7 separate regions of the Homo sapiens genome follow, and regions 2, 3, 4, 5, 6 and 7 are each linked to region 1. Evidence: promoter capture Hi-C in 16 types of primary human blood cells and fetal thymus (Javierre and others, 2016). All regions are on one chromosome and are shown on one strand. Each heading gives the region's core, a stretch centred on a gene start or on the middle of the fragment in contact. The rest is flanking DNA. Distances are from core to core; before and after follow the strand shown. Region 1 holds the start of POU3F3 (POU class 3 homeobox 3). Region 2 overlaps LINC01102 (long intergenic non-protein coding RNA 1102). Region 3 has its middle 44 kb from the start of LINC01103. Region 4 has its middle 16 kb from the start of LINC01103. Region 5 overlaps LOC100287010 (a long non-coding RNA gene). Region 6 overlaps LINC01102 (long intergenic non-protein coding RNA 1102). Region 7 has its middle 48 kb from the start of LINC01831.

Evidence for each region. Contacts are between HindIII fragments. The CHiCAGO score rates a contact against its expected background, and 5 or more counts as called.
Region 2: a fragment that was not itself captured here is called in contact with the fragment with the promoter of POU3F3 in region 1 in 4 of 17 cell types (M2 macrophages, M0 macrophages, M1 macrophages and 1 more); the score reaches 6.7 in M2 macrophages.
Region 3: a fragment that was not itself captured here is called in contact with the fragment with the promoter of POU3F3 in region 1 in 2 of 17 cell types (monocytes and M0 macrophages); the score reaches 5.4 in monocytes.
Region 4: a fragment that was not itself captured here is called in contact with the fragment with the promoter of POU3F3 in region 1 in 1 of 17 cell types (M2 macrophages); the score reaches 5.5 in M2 macrophages.
Region 5: a contact is called between a fragment that was not itself captured here and the fragment with the promoter of POU3F3 in region 1, in 1 of 17 cell types (M0 macrophages). The highest score is 6.0, in M0 macrophages.
Region 6: a fragment that was not itself captured here is called in contact with the fragment with the promoter of POU3F3 in region 1 in 1 of 17 cell types (monocytes); the score reaches 6.0 in monocytes.
Region 7: a contact is called between a fragment that was not itself captured here and the fragment with the promoter of POU3F3 in region 1, in 1 of 17 cell types (megakaryocytes). The highest score is 5.5, in megakaryocytes.

The regions. Positions count from the first base shown.
Region 1 is chr2:104,852,692-104,855,824 of GRCh38, forward strand. It overlaps POU3F3 (POU class 3 homeobox 3), which reads left to right and starts at 1,424. Exons shown (of 1, transcript NM_006236.3): 1 at 1,424-3,133. The coding sequence starts at 2,820. It also overlaps a transcript of PANTR1 not described here. RefSeq lists an enhancer at 1,028-1,617. The HindIII fragment of the contact is 8,766 bases long and covers 1-3,133 here.
Region 2 is chr2:104,464,877-104,468,158 of GRCh38, forward strand. The region is part of intron 1 of LINC01102 (long intergenic non-protein coding RNA 1102); the gene reads left to right. Among named protein-coding and RNA genes, the nearest start is that of LINC01102, 32 kb to the left of the region's middle. The HindIII fragment of the contact is 5,892 bases long and covers 1-3,282 here.
Region 3 is chr2:104,552,490-104,555,948 of GRCh38, forward strand. No RefSeq gene overlaps it. Among named protein-coding and RNA genes, the nearest start is that of LINC01103, 44 kb to the left of the region's middle. The HindIII fragment of the contact is 1,309 bases long and covers 1,172-2,480 here.
Region 4 is chr2:104,525,020-104,528,401 of GRCh38, forward strand. No RefSeq gene overlaps it. Among named protein-coding and RNA genes, the nearest start is that of LINC01103, 16 kb to the left of the region's middle. The HindIII fragment of the contact is 1,687 bases long and covers 1,174-2,860 here.
Region 5 is chr2:104,395,550-104,399,097 of GRCh38, forward strand. All of the region lies in intron 1 of LOC100287010 (a long non-coding RNA gene), which reads right to left. It also overlaps the pseudogene AHCYP3. Among named protein-coding and RNA genes, the nearest start is that of LINC01831, 17 kb to the right of the region's middle. The HindIII fragment of the contact is 507 bases long and covers 1,135-1,641 here.
Region 6 is chr2:104,480,443-104,483,821 of GRCh38, forward strand. All of the region lies in intron 1 of LINC01102 (long intergenic non-protein coding RNA 1102), which reads left to right. Among named protein-coding and RNA genes, the nearest start is that of LINC01103, 28 kb to the right of the region's middle. The HindIII fragment of the contact is 5,330 bases long and covers 1-3,379 here.
Region 7 is chr2:104,364,881-104,368,119 of GRCh38, forward strand. No RefSeq gene overlaps it. Among named protein-coding and RNA genes, the nearest start is that of LINC01831, 48 kb to the right of the region's middle. The HindIII fragment of the contact is 1,062 bases long and covers 1,452-2,513 here.

The DNA of each region.
Region 1 (3,133 bases), core at 174-2,673:
TCTCTTTTTTCTTGGTTCGCTGAGGTTCCTCTGTGCAGCGTTTCCGCTTGGCCGCGTCCCCCCACCCCACCCCACCCCACCCCCGCTTCTCTCGCCTACCGGGTGCACTCCCCCTCCCATCCCCCTTAACTCTTTCAGCTGGGTTAGAGCTGAGAAAGCATTTGTCGCCGCCAGCCCCATCCACCACGCAAATCCATCTGAGACAGAAAGGAAAGAAAAAAAAGCACCACCATGCCTAAGAATAGAGAGCGAGCAAACCCCCCCACCGCTAATCACACACACACACACACACACACACACACACACACACGAGGAAGCGGTGGAGCAGAGAAGGGCGCGGCTAGCCGATCCCGGTTCTTTCGCCCGGCTCCTGCTGCCACAGGGAATTCCTAAAGCCATTGGGGTCGAATACACTTACGATGAATCTATGGGGGAAGGTCGGACTGATTGCTTTTCAAATACATCGCACGGCTCCGCTGACCGGCACCCTCCAAACTCACAAGGGCACGCACGCTACTTGCACGAATCCCAGAGGAGGGAGGAGGGAGGAAGGGAGGGAGAGCGAAGGAGGGAGAGAGGGGGTGGAGGAGCCAGGGAGCGGCGGCAGCGAGCGGTCCGTCTCGCACGCGCGGGCACCGCGCTGGTCCTGGGCTGCAGGTTTCCCAGATGATGGCATCCGAGAACTTAAACAAAGGGGGCTGCCGCCGGCGCGCAACGGCTGCGGAAAGTTGCGGTGGCGGATTTCCAAGGAGCGTGGCCACGACCAGAGCTCTTGGCGATGCGAGCCCCCGCTTCCCACCCCCGCCGATCAGAGAAGGGGGCCGGCTGGTGAAGGGAAGAGGAAACTTTGAAACCACTGGGGACACATCTGTCTATAGGTATTAGCTTGAATGGTACATCCGTGCCGCGCGCTTTACAAATCTCTGGCGGGGCGGGGGTAAGGGGGTGAGCAACCCGACGCGTACTAGGTGGGGTGGGCAGGTTGCTATTTTTCATGTTTCCCCCTTCGTTTTCCTTCTGATTCTCTTCCCCCCTCTCGTCCCTCCCTCCCTTTTATCTCCCCTTTCTTCCCCCCGCCCAGACCTATTGCGAACGCCCAGAGCCGCCGAGGGAACGCCAACGTCTGGGCCGGACACTAAGAGTTAAGATGTGGCGGAGGGGGCGGCGGGGGAGGGGCGGGGAGGGGAAAGTGGTGAGGGGGAGGGAGGCTGGAGGACGACAGATTTCCAGCTTCTACGACGCTCTGCCTAAATTAAAAAGCAACCAATCGGAACGGCCGGAAGGGGGGCCTCGCGTCCTGAGCCAGTCATTCCGAGCCTGCCAATCACCCAGCGGGTAGCCAATCAGCGGGGGCCCTGGTGCTCGACTTCCTTGTATTTGGGAAAGTGTGGTGGTGGGTGCGCGCTCGCGGCGGAGGGTAAACATTCGACAGTCCCCGCTCTGAGAGGGAGGGACAGAGAGCGAACTGTCAGATCGGAGCGAGAGCGGGCGCCCGAGAGAGGGAGAGAGAGAGAGGGAGGGAGAGGAAAAGTGAGAGAGGGAAAGAGAGCGCGAACGAGGGCGCAGAGCGAGCTCCTGCTGCAACTCTGCTCCAGCACGGCCAGCGCCAGCGCCCGCCGTCGGTGCACTCTACGAGCCGTGCAGCGTGCCCACTGGAGTTGTTGTGTATCAAGGATCGATCCCCTATATGCACACACACACCTCCACCTCCACCAATGCACTCTTCTTCCTCCTCCTTCTCCAGACAACTGCTGGGAAAAAAATAAAACACCAACCCCAACCGTCAGCAACAAGGTAACAGAGCGATTCGACATCATTTTTTTTCCTGTTCAATTTTTTCCTTGTTATATTTGTTTCCTAATTTCTGCCCAAAAGGAAAGATGTCGCATCAGACTGTGACTGTTGCGAGGAGAATGAAAAAGGACTCTTGTTTCAGAGGCAACCAAGAGCTCCGGCAATAGCAACTTCAGAGAAATGCACCATCGCAAGAAGTTTTCCTAGGACAGAACAAAACTTGAAACGAGAGGACCAGAGGGGGAGAGCAGGAGCCAGCCTCCCCTCTCCGCACTCGCGAGCAGCCAGCAGCACCACGCCTTCAAGGACGAAAAAGTTTTACTACTCTAAGGGAAAACGAGTGAAATGTGTTCCTGAGGAGGAGAGGAGAGGAGAGGAGAGAGCGGACAAGAGAAGGAGCGGGCCGGTTGCTGGTCATCCGTAATTTGGCTAAGGAAGAAAGGAGCAGCTTCTTTCTTTGTTATCTCCCGTGAAACCTTCACTTAGCAGGTGGACGGAGCCCCGCGACCGGGCAGAGTCCGGGCTCGCCCGAGGACAGGAGGAGGAGCGGGAGCCCGCGCGTCCCGGGAGAGCGCCCCGAGTGCAGGTCCCCGCCCCGCCCGGCGAGCCCCGCTGGAGCGAGCCCAGCGCGCCGGGGCTGGGGGGCGGCCACGACCCCCCCTGAAGGGGGTGGCCACGGAGCGCACCCCGAGAAGCGAGCCCCCCTCCCCAGAGCGCTGCTCCTGCGGCTGCTGCTGCTGCTGGTGACCAAGGCCGGCCGGCGACCCCCGCGCCCTGCCGAGCGGCCTTGCAGCTGCAGCCGGGGGCCGCGGCGGCGGCGGCGGCGGCGGGGGCGGAGGCGGCGGCGGAGGAGGAGGCGGCGAAGGCGGCGGGGCCGGCGGGGGCCCGGGGCGGGGGCGGGGAAGGAGGGGGGGAGGAGGCGGGAGGCGGGGGGCGCGGCGGCGGCGGCGGCGGCGGCGGCCGCGGCTGCTGCTGCGGCGGCGGCGGCGGTGGTGGCGGCGGTGGGGTGGCGGGAGCGGAGCGGCATGGCCACGGCGGCTTCTAACCCCTACCTGCCGGGGAACAGCCTGCTCGCGGCCGGCTCTATTGTGCACTCGGACGCGGCAGGGGCTGGCGGCGGCGGGGGTGGCGGCGGCGGCGGCGGCGGGGGCGGCGCAGGGGGCGGGGGCGGCGGCATGCAGCCGGGCAGCGCCGCCGTGACCTCGGGCGCCTACCGGGGGGACCCGTCCTCTGTCAAGATGGTCCAGAGCGACTTCATGCAGGGGGCCATGGCCGCCAGCAACGGCGGCCATATGCTGAGCCACGCGCACCAGTGGGTCACAGCCCTGCCCCACGCCGC
Region 2 (3,282 bases), core at 29-2,528, 390 kb before region 1:
TCTTGACCAATTTTTTTATTTTTTATTAGAGACAAGGTTTCACCATGTTGGCCAAGCTGGTCTCGAACTCCTGACCTCAAGTGATCCACCCGCCTCAGCCTCCCTAAGAGCTGGGACCACAGGCATGAGCCACCTTGCCTGGCCAGATACACTGTTTTCAACCCCAAAATAACAATAGGTCAAAACAACACTGAAACAAAATAGTTCATGTTACTGCCTTCGTACTTCTAACTGAAGTCTAATTTTAGTGAAATATTTTTGAATTGTAAAGGCTAGAAGTTTGTAACCTTCAGCATAATTGAACGTTTATTTTCCTACGATTAATTCCGTCTAGAATGACATGTGCAAAATAATGCAGTCATAGTAAACTTTGGAAGGAAACTTGGAAATCATTTTGTCAAACTATCTTATTTATAGATGAGAAACTTGGGCCCAGAGAAGTTCTATGATTTGTATAATGAAAGAACCATAATGTTAGCAGCATTTGTGTTTTCCAAGCAAAACAGGACTAGGCAGAAAGTTGAATTGGTTCCCTGAATAATTCAGATCAAAAGAAGCTGAGGTATCTGAATTCAAAAAGCCAGATTGTATGTTTGCCCTCAAGTATCAGGACAAATTTTATTTGGAGTTCCGCATATCCACACCATTTGCATGCCTTCTGATTAAACACTTAGTCAATGGTGACTATTTAAGCATAAGAAATTCAATTCTCATTTTCACTAACATTTATTACCCATTTATTATGTGCAGACACTGAGCTGAGTACTATACATACTTCATGTCATTGAAGTCCCGCAGTTCCATAAGGGAGGCAATATCATTATTTCCATTTTGCAAAAGTAGAAACTCTGAGCTCTTATATGGAGAAAATTCAGTACTCTGCTAAGGTTTACACATCTAATAAGAAAAGTAGATGCTCAAGGGGGAAAAACACTTGCATATCTGACTCCAAACTATACTTCTCAGCCTGTATGCAGACCTCAGTCGGTGAAAAGTTTGTTGGAGACACTGGCCCGGCTCAGCCAAGAGTTTCTTGGGTCCCTTTACCTGTTGTTGGTGTGTCCCCCACCTCTTCCTCTATGGCCCTGCTTCTCTGGCTTGCATCAGGGCAGAAAACTGCCCTTCAGCTCCTGATTCCCCTCTCCAAAGTCTGGCCAGTGTCAGATATGAAGACTGGCTCCCGTACCCCAAGTCAGTCCATCTCTCAGGTTTGACTTATACTCCAGAGCTCCCTGGCAGATCAGACAGACTGAGGATGCTCGTTTGCCTAGCACGACTCCCTGGCCTGGCTTCCCCTTTTCTGTGGTCTGCTTACCTCATCTTTCACCAGTTTCTCCTGGAAGCTCTTCCTTCATGCATCGATTGCACAGAAATCTTCACATCACATCTTCTTCTCAAAAGCCTAACCTGAGATGCTTGTGCTTGTACCCCAGATGATGGGAAGATGTGGACTCTGGTGGAAGGCACATGATCAGATCCCTTTGTTTTCATGTTTGCATCTCATTCCTCTGTTGGATATTAAAGAAGTGTTCCTGAATCATGCAGGAATAGTCTCTGAGGAAATTATACTCTTCTTCCAACTCCACACAAGGAGGCCTATTTGGATAAAATTTTTCCAGAAACGATTACATACTTTTCTCTTTCAGCCCTGCACAATAAAACATTCAGTCCCTTGACTCTCCACATTCTCCAAGCAAATTAAGAGTTATGTCCAACTTCACTGAAGATCTTGCAGAGCCCTTCTGAGGGTGGGTGATCCAGAGCACAGTGACCAGTTGGACAGCAGTGTGTGTCTGTGCATACCTGTCCCACGGGCTGCCAAGAGTTGCGTGAGCCTGACCACATCCTCCCTGCTCACCAGGCTTCCACCACTCCCCAGCCTCTTGAGGGAGAACAAGTTTCCCTGGCTTGATGAATGATACCCTTTGGCCCTGTCTCTGCTTGTGCCACTAGCTTTGTCTCCTACACTAGCTACCTTGTATTTGATCTCCCTCACTATGAAATCATCCATAATTCCCCAAACCCAACCTGACACCACTTTTGATTATGGTCAGACATTTTTTTCCCTGGGAATTCATCCAGAGCTCTCATCCAGAATTCTACAGGAAATCCATTTTCTCCACTTATAGTACTGAGGCAGAAGCAGTGGCATCACATTTGACTCATCCACATGGCTGAATATCATTTTAAATTGGTCTGTCTGTTTGGTGACAATTCATAAACCCCGGGGATGTTGTCCTTTAAAATGAACTTCTTTGGTCAGGGACCTCAGGATCCTCTAGTCTGAAGCAATACTCTTCCTCTCCAAGGAGGAAATGTGCCACCCCAATAAGAGAATTCTATTTACCCGATTATAATGTATACATGTTTGGAACCCACGTGGTTGTACTCAATAGACATAGGTGGACCTCTGGAGTCAGGAGACAACTTACACAAACATTACTGGGTCAAGCCCTTTGCTTACTGGAAGGCATGGACACTTCCAGTTACATTATCATGCACCTTCTTCAACACTTACTTTATCTTTTTGCTTGACAGAGACTCAGAAGTGTGAAGAGATCCCCGAGGCTCTGTTTTTTTCTTTATATAAATTGAATAGAGGCATTGAAAAAAGAAACCTATGAGAACAGAGGTGAAGAGGCAGCTGTGGCTTTTCCTTGAACTCACCTTGGTGGTCATTCTACACCAGGGGACAGACCAGAGATGTCAAAGGACTAATGGTCCGATTCAGAGGCAGAGATCACAATGTCTCTCTGCATGGTTGCATGCCTATGGGTTTCAGTAGAAATTATTTAATCATGTCTCATGTGAAAGCTCAATTTAAATACCAATTCTCCTTATTTCACAAAATGGAATAAAGCTATGAGTAAGAGGATTTACACCCAAGACAACATCGCCATTGACACTCAATCAGGCTTTCATAAATAAAGTCATGAAGAATTCAAGGCAACTACTTTGATTATTTGAGTCAAAAATTTATAAGTGTATTTTCTTTTCCTGGGAGGAATTTAAGAGCCAGTTGAGGAGAGGAGAGAGCCATATGTGGACGGTGACCCAAGAGTGTAGTGGCTGAGTGGAGCCATTGAGCCAGGCAGACTGAGGAGAGAGGAACTCACTGTGGCAGTGTGTCAGACACGGGCTTGCAGAGGTCAAGTTTTCACTGCATGGGCCAAGTCAGAGATGACATGCAGATTCTAAATCAGTGTTATTTGGTCCTGATGTCTTAATAAATAGTTACAACTATGCAATGGTGATACTTTTCATTTTGCCTTAGTAACAATC
Region 3 (3,459 bases), core at 576-3,075, 300 kb before region 1:
GTTCAAGACCAGCCTGGCCAACGTGGCAAAATCCCTTGTCTACTAAAAAATACAAAAGCTAACCGGGCATAGTGGCACACTCCTGTAACCCCAGCTACACAGGAGGCTGAGGCTGGAGAATTGCTTGAACCCGGGAGGCGGAGGTTGCAGTGAGCAAAGATCACGCCACTGCCCTCCAGCCTGGGCGATAGAGTAAGACTCCGTCTCCTTGTCTTTAAAGGGAATTTGATTTAATTAGTAAATCCAGACTAACACAAGGAGGAAAAGGCATAAATAAAACTCTTTAGTCTGCAAATAGAGGGAAACACATTAACATCATTGAGTGTCTATATAGGGAAGTCCCTGAAGACATATAAGAAGAAAATTGAGAAATATCAACCCAGACTCCTCTGAAGGTGGAGAAGTGGACCAGATGCTTCTCAAAATCTCTCCCAGGTGTGCAGAGCTAATGACTCTAGGGCTCAGGCACCTGAGAAATTCGGAGGGCTCAGGACAGGTGAACTGTGCTTTCAAACCTTAATATGTGAAAAGTCAGGTCTAGTAAAAAGATTAACTAGTGAATATTCACTCAACAGTAAGATTTCACCTAAAAAAAAGTATGAATACAGAATCACTTTTAAAACCCTCAAGTGCATTTAAAATATGATCCAATTTCCAGAAATTGGAGAACATATTCTTTCAGTAAAGGAATCTATTCATGTGTATAAATTACAGATACTGTTTCTGCATAGATGCTATTTTTAACAAGCATACAAAAAATCCTACATAGGACAATAATTTTCCTTCTTGTGCTGCTTTGGTGTGTTTATATGAGTGAATGAGCAACTGAATAAACTTGGCTTTCATAAGTATAGATTTAAATATTAGGGATTCATATTGGACCCTATATTCAGTTATTACTACTGTCATGGAAGATGTATTCCTACTCCAGGAGGGAAAGAAAGCTCTAAAATAAAGTGCCTGGAAAATAAAGTGTCTGCTTCTCGCTGTGATTTTTTCCTCCAAATAGCCAGGAACGGAAGCTGAAGGATTTGAGTAGTCTTTCCTCTACTTCCTTTCTTTTTTCCTGAAACCATTGGATGAAAAAGTCTAAGCTGAAATCATTGTAAATTGCGTTGTTCACAAAGCAGCTATCACTCTTTTTTACTGGCATGGGAAGCCAACCTACCGAAGCTTCCAACAGTGATCTGGAGAATAATTCAAACAGGGGAACTTCCAGTGGAGATGTACCTACCTATGGTTTTGTCCACAAATGAAGAGAAATGGTGAGGTGGGTGATCACCCAACAATCTGAATTCCAGAAAACAGTCCAGGTTCTTCACATGCAGACCATCAGCTTTGCTAATCAACAAAATTGCATGACCTAAAAAAATCAAGTTAATCACGGCTTTATCTCCTCTCTGTCTGCCTGTAAAAACCCAAACTTCATATTCAAGGATTCCTGAATACATTACCCTAACCCAAAAAAGTCAAGTTGGTATTAAGCAGAACCCACATTTACAGACTGCTTGCAGCTCCCCAATGAAATGAGTGCTGAGTCTCACAGCGGTAGCTTTCAGAATGCCAAAAATTTTGCATAATAAGAATTCATTTTTGGTGCTCACACTGAGGGGTAAATCTGCAAAGAAGGAACTCAACTATTTTGAAAGCTCAAACATTGTTCAGAAATTTATAGCTTTTCAAACTTGGGAATTGAGGCTGAAATGCTTAGGAGAAAATGGGAGGGGAAGGACAAAGGCCTTGGGTAGAAGGTTGGGCTCATAGAGAGGTAGAATTCCTGGCATCCCATGGTCTCCGCATGCTCTTATGGGTGTCCACCATAAGGCACATGCATATACACTCCACATCTGATGCTGCCTGTTGTGCACATACATGTGCATTTTTGTGTACTCTGCACATGAGTGTTATTATATGTGCATGCATATACTACATATGTAAACTTTGCTGTTGTTTCAATGTTTTCCACTTAAGACAATATGACATGCTTCGGTAACCCTGACTCCTTTTGGGATGTGAAGAACTGCGACTGCAGTTAAAGTAATAGAGAGCGATAATGTGGCATGCCAGGAAAACAGCAGCATTGGCCCTGAGGTAACCCCTTTCAAAAATGCCCAAGCAATGGAAAACGTGGCATCTCATTTCCTGGGAATATGGCATTAGTACTCATCAGCAAAATGTAACACTTTATTTGAAGATATCAGTAGATTTTGAGGCAATGTTTCTCTCTTGCAATCGCTTGCTTATAGGTGCTGAGAGCCAGGGATCTCCAAGGAAAACGTTCTTGGCCTGAGAAACACATAAATTAAGGATAAAAAATTAATTCTGCCACTTTCCAATGCTATCTTACATTCATAAAGCATTGATATCAGACCTGACATGCTTTGGGTTTTAGTTCCATTTATTGTTGCTAATTTTCTAATTTCTAGGAGAAAAAAAGCATTTTAAACAGATCCAGGGCATCCCATGAAACTTCATGGTAAAGCTTTGTTGAGTTAAATATAAATGAATTGAGGGCTCATGGTCATATCTCCCTATAAATCATTGCACATAGTCAAAAAAGAGAATAGTTTAAGACTTTATGGGCAAAGCAGGTGAAAAAAATTATTGAAGACATCTAATATTTACATTTTTACTCATTAGCAATTAGTTTTTGGGATATAATAATGCTTAAATGATATCCTTTTGCTAACTGAACACTGATTTATGAAAAGACCTTTTAAGCATGTATAAGATTTTTTTCATGGTATTTTTTGGAATATTGTTTTGTTTATCTGTATGGTGGTTGCTTTGTTTTTGTTTGTTGGCTTAGAAAGGAACTGAGAGCCCACGTATAATTTCCAGATTGTATCTATTAATATGAAAGTGACCTGTGTAGTATTAATTACATTTTTTATCTTAATATGTTTAGTGATTTTTTTAATAGATCAAAGACGCAAAAATTTTGGCAAACTAGTACCCTCATTAAAACTGAGATAAATAGGGTTATATACATCATCAAAAGAAAGCCTCATTTCAGAGTCAAAGTGGACTATGGGGCAAGCGAAGGCCTTTCCTTTCCTGGATCCAAGGTGTGCACATGTGAAACCACAAGAACTCTGGGAATGCCCAAAACCTAAGGCTCTTCACAGTCTACATCTTTTTCTTTTTTTTGAATTTTGTATAAGGACAAACACTTCAAAATGGGAGGCACAAAACCAAACAAGGATTTTCACTGGGATTTTAGATCGAACAGACATGGACTCCTCTCTGTCTCAAAACACAAGTGGTCAAATTTTAAAATAAGTATTCATGAGTCTGTTTGCATATGTGAACTTGCCTGCCCTGTTTTGTGGGATGCATGACATCCTCTCTGGGTGCAAAGAGCAACAGACACGATAGGAACCCTTCTGTTCCCTGGGCCCTGACTCTGAACGTTGAGTCCCATCCCTTCAGGAATGCCCAACTGCGATTATTTCTGGA
Region 4 (3,382 bases), core at 767-3,266, 330 kb before region 1:
AGGAGGGAAGGAAAATGACGAAGAGTTTGTTCCTAAAGTGAAGAAGTAGATCAATCCATGAATGTTTTCAAAAAATATTTCTATAAAATAGATGAGTTCTGCTTCCACAATGGGTGATTTTTAGCAACCTGCCCCTGAAACAGTCAGCTGGTGGGTCTTCATGATTCTCCCAGAAGCCGAAGCTGAGACAAGGATGTGAATGCAGATTATTTACTAAGAGGTAATCTAGGAAGAACTGGCAGGACTAGAGGTAAATGAAGCAAGCTAACACAGGGGACATTTGTGAGCAGGAGAATAATGAGTAAAAGTCCGCTGGAGACCTCAATGAATCTATATATAATACACCTCAGTTATTCCTTTTATCCACCTGGTCTTTTCTGCTGCCATTAATATCTGGAGGTTCTCACTACCTTCACTTGGTTCTCTGCTATTCCAGTGTTTACATAGCCAATTCCCTTTATTAAATACCCTCTACTTTAAATACCTAGAATGGGACCAACTTGAGCAGTACCAGTACATTCTCCACAGAGATGCTGACCCTGATTATCAACCTGCAGAACCAATGACAGCATCAGTCTCCCTCCAGACATTGTATACTGTGAGAAAATTATTTACTTAATCTGCTTTATTCACTTAATCTGCTATGATCGGGGATTTATTTTACCCATAAAGAACTACGTAATCAGTTTTTTCCATGCATTAATTTATTTACCTATTTTTAGCATTTTGCATGATAGACTGGCCTCATCCAGTTCACTGAGCAAGTATTTGCTTTCTAATGAGTCCTATAAAGTCCACCCGTCTAGACTGTAAGGGAGACAGACATCTCAAGAGTTTATTTCTGCTTTTACTTTTCTTTGAAACAAACTGAGCTGTTCTGTTCCATGTAACTCCACACTGTCTTCGACCAGGTGCATGTTCCTCTTATGTTGAATCGCTGCAGCTCAAGAGCCAACTTAAGCCACACAAGCACATTTAAGGATTGTACCACATTCACTAACATTCCATTGGCCAATGCAAATTATGTGGCCCTGCTCAACACAAATGGGGCTGAAAAGTATTTTGTTCACAAAGGGAGAGGAAAGAGTGTGCTAAAAAGTAATTCTCAAATTTTAACATGCATCAGAGTTCCCCGGAAGACTTGCTAAACAGACTGTGGGGCCCCATTCCCAAAGCTTCTCATTCAATAGGTTTGGAGTGGTACCCCACAATTTACGTTTCTAACAAATACCCTGGTGATGCTGATGCTGCTGGTCCAGGGACTAAACTTTGAGCATCACTGGTCTAACCTATGACTTTAGTCTTGATACCTATCACAGTAGGTATCTAGAGAGGCCATGCAGTGTCTAAGAGAAAGTCGGGGACAAAAGAGTGTAAAATGCAAAATAAATGAAAAACAAAAATGATTAGTCTTGTGAATAGTCCTTTTGAAAAAATGCAAAAGGATCTTGGTTTAATTAGGCGAAAGTAGAGTAGAAAACTCAGTAACCATCTTAAAGTGTGCATTAGAATATAAGCGGCTGGTTTTTGGAGGACAGGAATAGAGTTAAAGTGCATCAAAGATATTTAAATTAGCCATGAGCAAGAACAGCCCATTTGCAAGGCTGTTGACATGGCAGGTACACCAAAGAGACTTAGAAAATCAGAATTAGATCATTTAAGGCATAAACAGTTACCATCGTGTTATTATTTGACTTTTGTCCTACATTGGTGCAAAATTGGAATCATCTCTGAGGGTCACTTTGGCCCCACAATCTGGTAAAGCCGGGTATGAGGATGGGAGAAAACTCAGTAAAGAAGGAGACAGAGGGAGAGACCCTGAGGAATGAATGCCTTCTTTATTGGCAAATGTATTAAAAGATGTCACCAACAGACTTTTCATAAAAGCAAACATTTCCTAATCGTGCTGTCACCCTTAAAGCACGATGAATCTTACCCCATCGAGGAGTCAACTTTTATGGGGAGACTAGAAAAAGCATCAGACTGAATGTCACAAGACCTGGAATGAGCCTAGGTTCGGCCATATTTGTGTTGGTTGGCCATTTATCTTAACCTTTTGCAGTTTCAGGTTTCTTGTCTATAAAATGGGTATAAGAATACCATCACTAATAAAAGAGAAAGAGCTTTGCAAACCATAAAGTGCTATTCGAATGCTGGCTTTCGGATGGCAGAGAAGCGGTGACCATGGGCAGACCCGTCCATCTCAGCTTGCCCTGCGGAGCATTGTGGGAGTGCTTTCTGAGTCGGAATTTCAAGCGTCACTGCAAGGACAGTTTGTGTTTTGGATATCAGACAGTAAAAGTTCAGTTCAGTTAATTGCATTCTCAGTTCAGGACGTATTATCAAAATCGGTAGGTACGAGGCCTTCCTCTTGTCTAATCTCATGCTTTTTTCTTCAACTCCATTCCCAACCCCAGCTTCCCCCTCCCCACTCTCACTCAGTTTGGTATACGTCTTTGCTATGCACACGTGTTTGAAATAGAGCATGTATTTATTTATGTGTGGCAGAGATACTGTACTTTATATCTCACTCTGGGTTTTACTCAACACTGTGTTCTGGTTTTTCCTGTCTATCCATTTAACATTATGTACCTCCAGTGACTACTATACTGGTAATTCTTTTTTAATTAGATTCTTGACATACGGTAATAAACTTTTTATTTTGCCAATTAAGGACATAAAACAAACAAACGTCTATTATCTACTCTTCCCATCATTTCATCAAAAAGGGTATTTTGGCACCAAAAATTGGATAAGGATAGAATCTCAAACTAAAGCATAGTTTCTTTATGGTGAATACTTCAGGACCATCTAGATTTGTGGGAAACCTCATCCATTTCTCTCATTTGTGGAACAGTGAAGCTTTATCATGGGCTGGAAATAGAAAAACATCAGAGGAAAATATTTCTGTACCGTGCCATATAGTCATAGTTTAGACTTTGTGGGTCCAGAGTTGGCTTCAGGGCCATGAGAACTATGCAGTTGCACAAAGCCCCACACTTTAGAAGGGCCGTTTGCTTGGTTTAATGTTCTACTGTTACTGTTTTAAAATTCTTAATAATTTGTGAACTGGAGGCCCTGCATTTTCATTTTGTTCAGGGCCTCAGTTCTCTGTAGGTCAGATATCCTCCGTTACAACCACTCCTCTCTGCCACGGGAACACAGACACAGCCGTAGACAGCATGCAAACGAATGAGAGTGGCTACATTCCATCAAAACTTTACTTCCAAATATAGGCCGCGGGCTGGATCTGGCCTGTGAGCCACAGTTTGCTGGCCCCTGGCTTAGAGCACAGGCTGTGGAGTAAGCAGGCTAGATTCAAATACCAATGCCAGGACTGCGGCTGCATGACACCTGGCCATTTACTTAACCTTCTCCAATT
Region 5 (3,548 bases), core at 138-2,637, 460 kb before region 1:
TGGGGCCGATCTTGGTGATGACGAAGGGGTCCCCAAAATCCCACAGGGCCTGGGCACAGCCCTTGCCCATGTCGCCATAGCCTGCCACCATGGCTACCTTGCCGACAATCATCACATCCGTATCCCTCTTGATGCCATCTATGAGGGACTCCCGGCAGCCTTAGAGGCTGTGAAACTTGCTCTTGGTGATGGAGTTGTTGACGGCAGGTACCTTCAGGATCCCCTTGGCCATCATCTTATGTAGGTTGTGGACCCTAGTGGTGGTCTCCTCAGAGATGCCTTGGATGCCCAGTAAGAGCTGTGGGTACTTGGTGTGGATGTGGTTGGTGAGGTCACTACCATCATCCAGAATCATGTTGAGGGGCACGTCTTTGAAGTAGTGAATGTTGGATGCATGACAGTTACCCCTTGCTTGTTTCACCCTTCCAGGCATGCACTGGAATGACAGCCTTGGCAATGGCAGCCATCACCTGGTCCTGGTGGAGAAGATGTTGCAGCTGGAACACTGTACCTCAGCATCCAGGGAGACAACGGGTCTCAGTGAGGATGTCTCTCTCCACGGTCACATACGGCCAGCCAGAGATATGGGTGCCCTTCAGTGGCTTGGAGCCCAAGTACAGCTCCCACACACTCATCAGACCCAGCATCTCATTCTCCGCAATATCCAGGCCCTTGTGTCCCCAGGAGGCCAGGTCGATGTCAGCAACTTTATAGGACAGTTTGTCAGACATGCTGGCAACGCTTCCACAAAGTGTGATGGACACGGAGAAAGGGGGCTGGGCCTCAGAGAGGGGACAGGCATGGGGCAGGTGGCACTGAGCAGGGCAGATCTGCATTTTCTAGTCCTTATCAGCTTCTGACCTGGCTGCTCATGTTTAATGCAACAACATTGTTTTCATCAGGCTAAGCTAGATTTTGCTGCAGTGACAGGTCACTCAAAAATCTGTGTGGCTTTTCACACACACAAAATATGTTTCCCACTCACACCACATATTCAACACAAAGAACACAGGGAGGCTTGGCTCATCCTAAACACATGAAGACCTGGCCTAACGGAGGCTCCATTTGGATATATTCTTCCACAGTCTCTAGAGATGAACATGGGAATCAAGTAAACGACACTCAAGCTCTTAAAGCTTCCCTCCCAATATAAAATAATTACTGGCTAAAGCATGGCCTTACCTAACTCCAAGAAGGTAAGGAAATGCAATTCTACCAAGTGCCTAACAGGAAAATAAAAATATCTGATAAATGGTACTGATGATTTCCTAAAGTACATCCACAAAATAAGGAGCTGACATTTTTTATTTTGAGCTGGAATATACTCCAAGACTCTGAACTGACAAATGATAAAAAATATAATATATACGGCCAGACACTGTCCCCTGTTTGTTAAGCAGTGGCAGAACCACCCCTGCTACCATTCCAGTGACCATCCCCTGCTTCCCAGTTTATATAAGAGGATTACAGAGTAAAGAAGGATGGAAGGGCTCTTGGATCCTCATAGATCTGCAGTGTCAGGAATGAAAAGGGGTCTCCCTCTCTTCTCCATAATCAAATAAATGGGGCTTTATGAGACCCTGTGGTTTGATGAGGAGTGTCTACAAGGAGGGGACACCAGTGCCCCACTTCCCAGCTGAAAGCTTGCTGTCATTCAGAATTGGAAAAAACTACTTTAAAGTTCATATGGAACCAAAAAAGAGCCCGCATCGCCAAGTCAATCCTAAGCCAAAAGAACAAAGCTGGAGGCATCATGCTACCTGACTTCAAACTATACTACAAGGCTGCAGTAACCAAAACAGCATGGTACTGGTACCAAAACAGAGATTTAGATCAATGGAACAGAACAGAGCCCTCAGAAATAACGCCACATATCTACAACTATCTGATCTTTGACAAACCTGAGAAAAACAAGCAATGGGGAAAGGATTCCCTATTTAATAAATTGTGCTGGGAAAACTGGCTAGCCATATGTAGAAAGCTGAAACTGGATCCCTTCCTTACACCTTATACAAAAATTAATTCAAGATGGATTAAAGACTTAAACATTAGACCTAAAATGATAAAAACCCTAGAAGAAAACCTAGGCATTACCATTCAGGACATAGGCATGGGCAAGGACTTCATGTCTAAAATACCAAAAGCAATGGCAACAAAAGCCAAAATTGACAAATGGGATCTAATTAAACTAAAGAGCTTCTGCACAGCAAGAGAAACTACCATCACAGTGAACAGGCAACCTACAAAATGGGAGAAAATTTTCGCAACCTACGCATCTGACAAAGGGCTAATATCCAGAATCTACAATGAACTCAAACAAATTTACAAGAAAAAAAACAAACAACCCCATCAAAAAGTGGGTGAAGGACATGAACAGACACTTCTCAAAAAAAGACATTTATGCAGCCAAAAAACACATGAAAAAATGCTCACCATCACTGGACATCAGAGAAATGCAAATCAAAACCACAATGAGATACCATCTCACACCAGTTAGAATGGCAATCATTAAAAAGTCAGGAAACAACAGGTGCTGGAGAGGATGTGGAGAAATAGGAACACTTTTACACTGTTGGTGGGACTGTAAACTAGTTCAACCATTGTGGAAGTCAGTGTGGCGATTCCTCAGGGATCTAGAACTAAAATACCATTTGACCCAGCCATCCCATTACTGGGTATATATCCAAAGGACTATAAATCATGCTGCTATAAAGACACATGCACATGTATGTTTATTGCGGCACTATTCACAATAGCAAAGACTTGGAACCAACCCAAATGTCCAACAATGATAGACTGGATTAAGAAAATGTGGCACATATACACCATGGACTACTATGCAGCCATAAAAAATGATGAGTTCATGTCCTTTGTAGGGACATGGATGAAATTGGAAATCATCATTCTCAGTAAACTATCGCAAGAACAAAAAACCAAACACCGCATATTCTCACTCATAGGTGGGAATTAAACAATGAGAACACATGGACACAGGAAGGGGAACATCACACTCTGGGGACTGTTGTGGGGTGGGGGGAGGGAGGAGGGATAGCATTAGGTGATATACCTAATGCTAAATGACGAGTTAGTGGGTGCAGCACACCAGCATGTCACATGTATACATATGTAACTAACCTGCACATTGTGCACATGTACCCTAAAACTTAAAGTATAATAATAATAATAATAATAATAAAAAGAATCAGAAAAAAAAATTAAACCTTTCCTTTATAAATTAAAAAAAAAAAGAAAAGAAAATGCAAGTCGGCCAGGCGCGGTGGCTCAGCCTGTAATCCCAGCACTTTGGGAGGCCGAGGCGGGTGGATCACGAGCTCAGGAGATGGAGAACATCCTGGCTAACACGGTGAAATCCGTCTCTACTAAAAATACAAAAAATCAGCCTGGCGTTGTGGTGGGCGCCTGTAATCCCAGCTACTCAGGAGGCTGAGGCGGGAGAATGGCATGAACCCGGGAGGCGGAAGTTGCAGTGAGCTGAGATTGCGCCACTGTACTCCAGCCTAGGCGACAGAGCGAGACTCCGTCTCAAA
Region 6 (3,379 bases), core at 523-3,022, 370 kb before region 1:
AGACAGGTTGATGAGAGGTGCAGGCGCAGCTTCCTGGACATTGAAACCTTTTCGTTTTCTGCCCTTGTCTTCTCCTCCTTGATTCATTGTTTTCATGGGCCATAAGCACAAAGCATTTTTGTTTCATTTAGCCTTGTAACATCACATATAGACCAACCACAAAGACTCCTCTCCTGGCCAATGTACCTGGAAGTGTCCATTTTAGGGGGTTGAGTGCAAGGTATCCACGCTGCAGCCTGCTCCACTTCACCAGTGCCTGTGCATGCAGAGCTGTCTTGGAGTGATTGTGAGGGAAGCCTGCAGCTTGTCACAGCAACTGAGCAAAGGTGTGATGTGGCCATGTGGACACGAAGGAGTGGCTCTGCCCAGCTGCATTCCAGATGAACATTCCAGGATACCCATGGAATGATGAGTAATTTTATTCCTACCAACATGGTCCCAAATACTGCACTGCTATGTACTTCGTGTGCCAGTAAGCCTTTAGAAATCACAGCTACTTTAGAAGCAAAGTACCATTACCCTTATTGTATAGATGCACAAACTGACTCACCTAGGAGGGAAGTGATTTCTTAGAGGTGCAAGAGTAGTAGGTAACAGAACTGGTTCAAGATCATGCCTTTGTAATACAAACTCAGGCTTCATTTTTTCTTTTGCACCAAGACTGCCCTCTTTGAGAGACAACAATATTTGGTGTGTTTTTTCAGGGGGTGAGGTTCTGGGGTTTCATTTATCATTAAATATGCATTATGCCTCTGCAATAAACTAAGTGCTGGGAATAAGCCATCTCCCCTGATGACTGCAATACAGTGGAGGACACTAAGGGCTGAGAAAGGGTAAAGATGGGGCATGCCATGGGGAAGCACTTACGGGGGATTGGTGCTGAGTGCAGGGCTACTGGTGTTCAGGAAAGCAACCTTGGCTCAGGGAAGAGTGTGCAGCATTCAGCCAGAAGCACGGTCTGCAAAGTGAGGGGTGGCTGGCACCGGAACAGAGGTTACTAACGCAGAGGGACCAGGGAGACAGAGGGCAAAAGATCATCTGAGCCATGTGGAGAACTGGAAGCAGCTCAGGAGAATCAGAGCCAGGGAGAATAGCAGGAATGAGCGCAGCAGTGAGACCCGAGGCTGGGGAGGTAAGCAAGCGTCCAATTTCACTTGCCAAGAAATTGTTGGTGTTAGCCTACAGGCACTGCTTAAGTTTACATAAGCTGCAATCATTGTGACCTAGAAGCTGGGAGCCAAGAGAACAGGTAGGACCTGTGCTGGCAGACACTGTAGTGAGAGATGATGGTGATGATTGTCTCTACTGTCGTCTGAATCTTTTCAGGACAAAGATGTATATCCAGCTGGTATCATTTGTCTTTAAACCAGGTTAAGTTGCCATCCATGCCAAATGAGTATTCATGACAGAGGTCAGGTACAGGTACAGTCAAACTTAAAATCTTGTAAATTACATATAAAATTATTTGAAGCTATTTAACACCTGATAGAACCAAATAAATTCTTTGGATAGCTTCACAACAACATTGCCTATACAGCAAATTGGGGTAATACATGGAAGACGCATTTTTCTTTTTTTGAAAAGGGGACACTTCATCCTTCTGGAATAACTTTTATTTATTTAGGAACTCCTCATTCCAGCTTTCTGAATTTGATCTGGAAGATGGGCATTGTTTGGATATCACAGTTCTTTAGTAAAGGTGGTTTGGCCAAACAAAATCCCAGGCAAATTCTATTTTGAATTCCCCTGGCCTCCACAGAAGCCATCAATTTAAGCTACCTTCTGTCTGGATGTCCCCTGCCAACAATTTGCTGCTTGATCATTGTTTCCAATTGCTAAAGTGACCCTTAACTATGGCTGCTAGAGAATTCCCTGGTTCCCTCAAATCGATGGAGAAATCCTAGAACAGTGGGATTTTTTCGTTGTTGTTTTTTTACCAGCCATGTGCTCCGTGCAAATTCTTTGATAGCTGCATATTCTCGTGCCCTAAATAGGTACTCTGGTACTCAAAATGCTGGTGATATGACTTCAAAAAAGGAGGTGCGGCTGTGAAGACAAGATGCTGTCTAGAAAGGCCTGTGTGGCCTGCCAAAGGCTACCTTTTACAGCACCAGAGAGGAGCAGTTTTTTAGCTTTTGTCCACTGCCCAAATGTTTTGGGAGAAATCTGTACTAGAGTAGCCAGAAAGGAATATAACCTACCTGCATGTACATTAGTTAGGTTATATCATCTGAAAAACTTAAGCATATTATTTTATAGAATTATCACCTCCAGTGAAGCGCAGCAAAGAAACTTCAACTCCTATACCAAGAATGGAAAAGAATTGCTCCGAGAAGGGACTGCTTCTTTTGATCACTTTTGCACTCAGGCTGGAGTGACTCTGCCCTATTCTCTCTCCTCAGTTCCTCAGGCTCCTTAGCAGATGTGGAGGGATGCCTCGGGGGGTCTCAGAAGTCCTGGACTCTGCTTCAGTGAAAAATAGGAGAGAAGCTGCTTTTTGGTTGCTGTTTGAACTTTTCATGAAGAGAGTTCGGATACAGTATTTAAGTGTGTTAAAAATGTTTGGCAGCATTTGCCCATTTATGAATATATTCATTCTTTCTACATCTTTCTACATCTATTGCACATCTTCCCCATAGCAGGAACCATTAAGACTCGGGGGGCCACGAAGTACATAAGTCTTGGCTCTCTGCTCTGGGAGCACTTGCTAGAACAGAGGGAGAGACGTGAAAGCGTAGAATTGAAATACAAGGAGATCATGTTCGTAATCGAGATATAAAGTGACTGCTATGAGAGGACTGCTCAATGAGCCACCAACGCCCTGGGGAATCAGGTCATGCCTCAGTGGAGTGTGATATTTGAGCTTCAGGTATTCTGTGGTTTACATACAGCTCGTCCCCACCAAATCTCATGTTGATATGCGGTCCCCGTGTGCTGGTGGGGAAGGTGGGGCTGGGTGGGAGGTGTTTGGGTCATTGGTCGGGGGGTTCTTTAGTGAATGGCTCGGTATGGGTCTCATGGTAGTTAGTTCTGCTCTCCTTAGACTGGATTACTTCTCGTGAGAATAAACTCATTCCCCTGAGAGTGGGCTATTATAAAGCGAGGACCCCCCTCAGATTTTGTCCTTTCTTTGTTGACCTTCGTCCATGTTATGACCTAGCACAAAAGTCCCCACCAGAAGCTGAGCAGATGCTGGCACCATGTCCCATGAACTTCCCACCTTGTGGAACCATGAGCTACAGAAAGCTCTCTTCTTTATAAATTACTCAGTCTTGGCTGGGCACGGTGACTCACGCCTGTAATCCCAGCACTTTGGGAGGCCGAGGCGGGCAGATCACGAGGTCAGGCAATCGAGACCATCCTGGCTAACACAGTGAAA
Region 7 (3,239 bases), core at 733-3,232, 490 kb before region 1:
GTTTTATGAGGAAGCAAAAAAAAAAAAGACATTAAATGCTTTCAAACTGTTGATTCTTTGTATGGCATTGTTAATGTGTGTATATATATATATGTGCATGTGTGTGTGTATATACACATACCTAATAGATACATACATGGGGGGATTGGCAAATATTTTTAGGGAAAAATAAGTTTTTTCTGTACTTGAAGCACACCACAAGAGGCAGTACATTATTAAGCATCATTAGCTTTTTTAATTTAATTGCACTAAAAGAGATTAAGGTCACACCCCAAGTATTCCAGCTTCTATGGGCAGGTTTTCTTTTTGTTTTCTTTTTTATATTCGAAATGAGAGACAGTATCCCCTCAGTTATCATGTGATAAGAACAATAAATGTGGCAAAACTATTTAGGGTAAGGCAAAGAAATTATGCCAAAAATAATGTCAGAGAGTTTCAAAATTGAGATGTTTTCCTTGAGAAAAAAAAAAGTAGTTTAAAAATAAAAATACATCATGGCAATTGAGACAGTGTGCTTCTTCCCCCACTACACCATCAGAAAAAAGAGCAGAAAATGTAATGGTCTTTGCCAAAAATTGAAGGCTACATCACTAGATTGCAATATTTGGCTTTTGGAGAATGAATTTAACAAAAGGAAGCAAATTTTAGAACTACTTTTTAAAAATAGAATGAACCATTAAATTAAACATTGGCCAAACCAGCCAAGAATTATACAAATTTGATGCAAATTCCATAACTCTGATTTCTCTTGCGTCTGTGAAAAACTCAACTTTATGACTGTTGATTCAACTGACTGTTGCCATTTATGTCTTTCATGGCCATGATCCTTTTGTCTCCAAGCTTCTAGATATTGCATTGGATTGGCCAACTAAGGCAATATATTTTCTATTCTGTACTTCTCAGAAATATACTTAGCATGTAGGAGAAGAGAGACTCCAGAAATGGGCTATGATGGTGGTTGAGAAGAATCTTTTTGCACATGCGTGCATGCTCATGAGTGTGTGCACACACACACAGACAATGCCTGAAGGACTTTGCAGCCACAACATCAGAGGGACAGATGATGCTTTGTTAATTTAATCTAATGTCTACAAATGTTGTACCTCGCTCAGAATGCTATCGCCTTAAATTTCAAACTTTAATTCAAGTTCTCAAAGTGTTCAGAGTTGACCATAAGGTTTGCAATCTTGGGGGCATGTCCTGATGGGTAGTAACAAGACATTTATGAAAATGTCCTTGTCTTATTCCAAAAGAGCGACCATGTGAAATGTGGCACCTGAAACTTGTTACAAAGCTTGTCACTTGCTCAATTAATTTGTCTTTATAGAGATACCAATCAGTGTGCCTGGCCAGCAATATACTCTCCTCCCAAGTCATAGTTGTAATCTGCTTTAGAACATGTTAAAATGGAAAACACGGAGCTGGAAAGGTGAACAAGAATATAGTCTAAAAGCTTGTCTTCATATACAAATAGTTCAGAAGGAGTAGGTGTGTAAGTAAAATTAAACACACACACACACACACACACATCATTCCTTGAAATTCAGTTGATGGCACAAAGAATGTGCACAGTGACTCTAATTCATAGAAACGAAGATCTCAAGCCATGCTGAAGACCAGCTTCTTTTTTTAAACCATCGCAGTATGTGCATGGTACACAGTGTATTTATATGGTGCATCCTACATACCCAATGAGAAGGCAAAAATAAAGAATTAGAATGTCATCATAATTTCAGTTTGGCAGTGATTTTATTTTTCTTGTTCTCCCTGATAATTCCAGTACCCAGACTAGTGCCTGGTATCTAATAAGCTCTTAATGCATATATGTTGAGTGATGGAGTGGCATAGGTAATTTCTGGAATGACTGAAGTAAATATAATCAGCTCACTTTAAAATGAATTTTTTCAGTATAAAGTAACTCTCTGGAAGTTGACATGAAGTTTGATCAGAAATTAAGGCAGAAGGTATGTGAAACAGTAGAAACTGTAGATATGAGTATAAAAAAAGTGGGTGGCAAGGGATAAGGAAGCATGTAGGGGGTTCTGCCCAGAATACTGAGAAACAGGCCAGACCATAATAAAAGGGAACACAGAGAAAGGAGGACCTTAGTGCACAAAAAATACAATTTTAATTTAATTTCAAAGCAACCTGAGTGTTACTGCAACACTGGAAAAAAGAACAAACTTGGTCTTACAAACATCAAAAAAAACAATGGTACCTTTAGTGTAGGGATATTTTGAGAATGGCCTATCCAGCTTACAGCAGCTACACAGCAGATTTCAATAGTCTAAGAGTGAAAACGTTTTAGAAATAGATGTGTTTGGAAAATTTTATACAAAAATAACTCAGCCATAGGATGGATTTGAAATATAAGGGAGAAATGAGTGAAAGATGTTCATTCTTTCATTCATTCCCCAATACTTAGTGAATGCCTGTGATGGGATAGAGCAGAGAAAAAAAAAAAAATAAGAAATCCTTGGCTTCATTCACTGTACATTCTTTAGGGTGGACCAAGCTTGTCTAAACCGCACGTAGTCCAGGATGGTTTTAAATGCAGCCCAATATAAATCTGTAAACTCTCTTAAAACATTATGAGACTTTTTTGGTGATTTTAAAAAAATAACTTATCAGCTAGTTGTTAGTGTTAGCGTATTTTATGTGAGGTTCAAGACAATTCTTCTTCCAAGTAGCCCAGGGAAGCCAAAAGATTGAACACTCCTGGGGTAGACAAAAATATGAAACCCAAAACAAATTAAATTAAAAATGGAAAAGAAAGTCTTGCAGAATCTTAGGAGGTTATGTGCTTGGAAGGACAAATAATGACATGGAGACCGGGCAGAGGGAGCTGGAGGAAGGGGCTGTGGTACTTTCAAGCACAGTGGTCAGGAAAGGCCCCCAGGGAGAAGATGGCATTGAAGTCTGAAAGAGGTTCTAAGTTCTTTCTGTTCTAGAGGATAGAGATACCGTCATACTTACAGAGAAAGGACATGTCATAAAGGCTTAGGGGCAAGCCGGGTTCATAACCTTTGTTTTAGAATTTTTCTTCTTCTCTATAAAATGTATCAATGCTTTTCAATAATTAGGGGTAAGTTCATTTTGTTTGTTTTTTTCCTCAAAGGCTCAAGAGATAGTTATGATTCTCAGTGACTTTCCCATTGGCTTCTTTTTAAAATATTTCAATTCGAATCAAATGTCCAGTGAGCAGCGGCTGTGCCTGGGAGGCGCCACAAAGGGGAGTG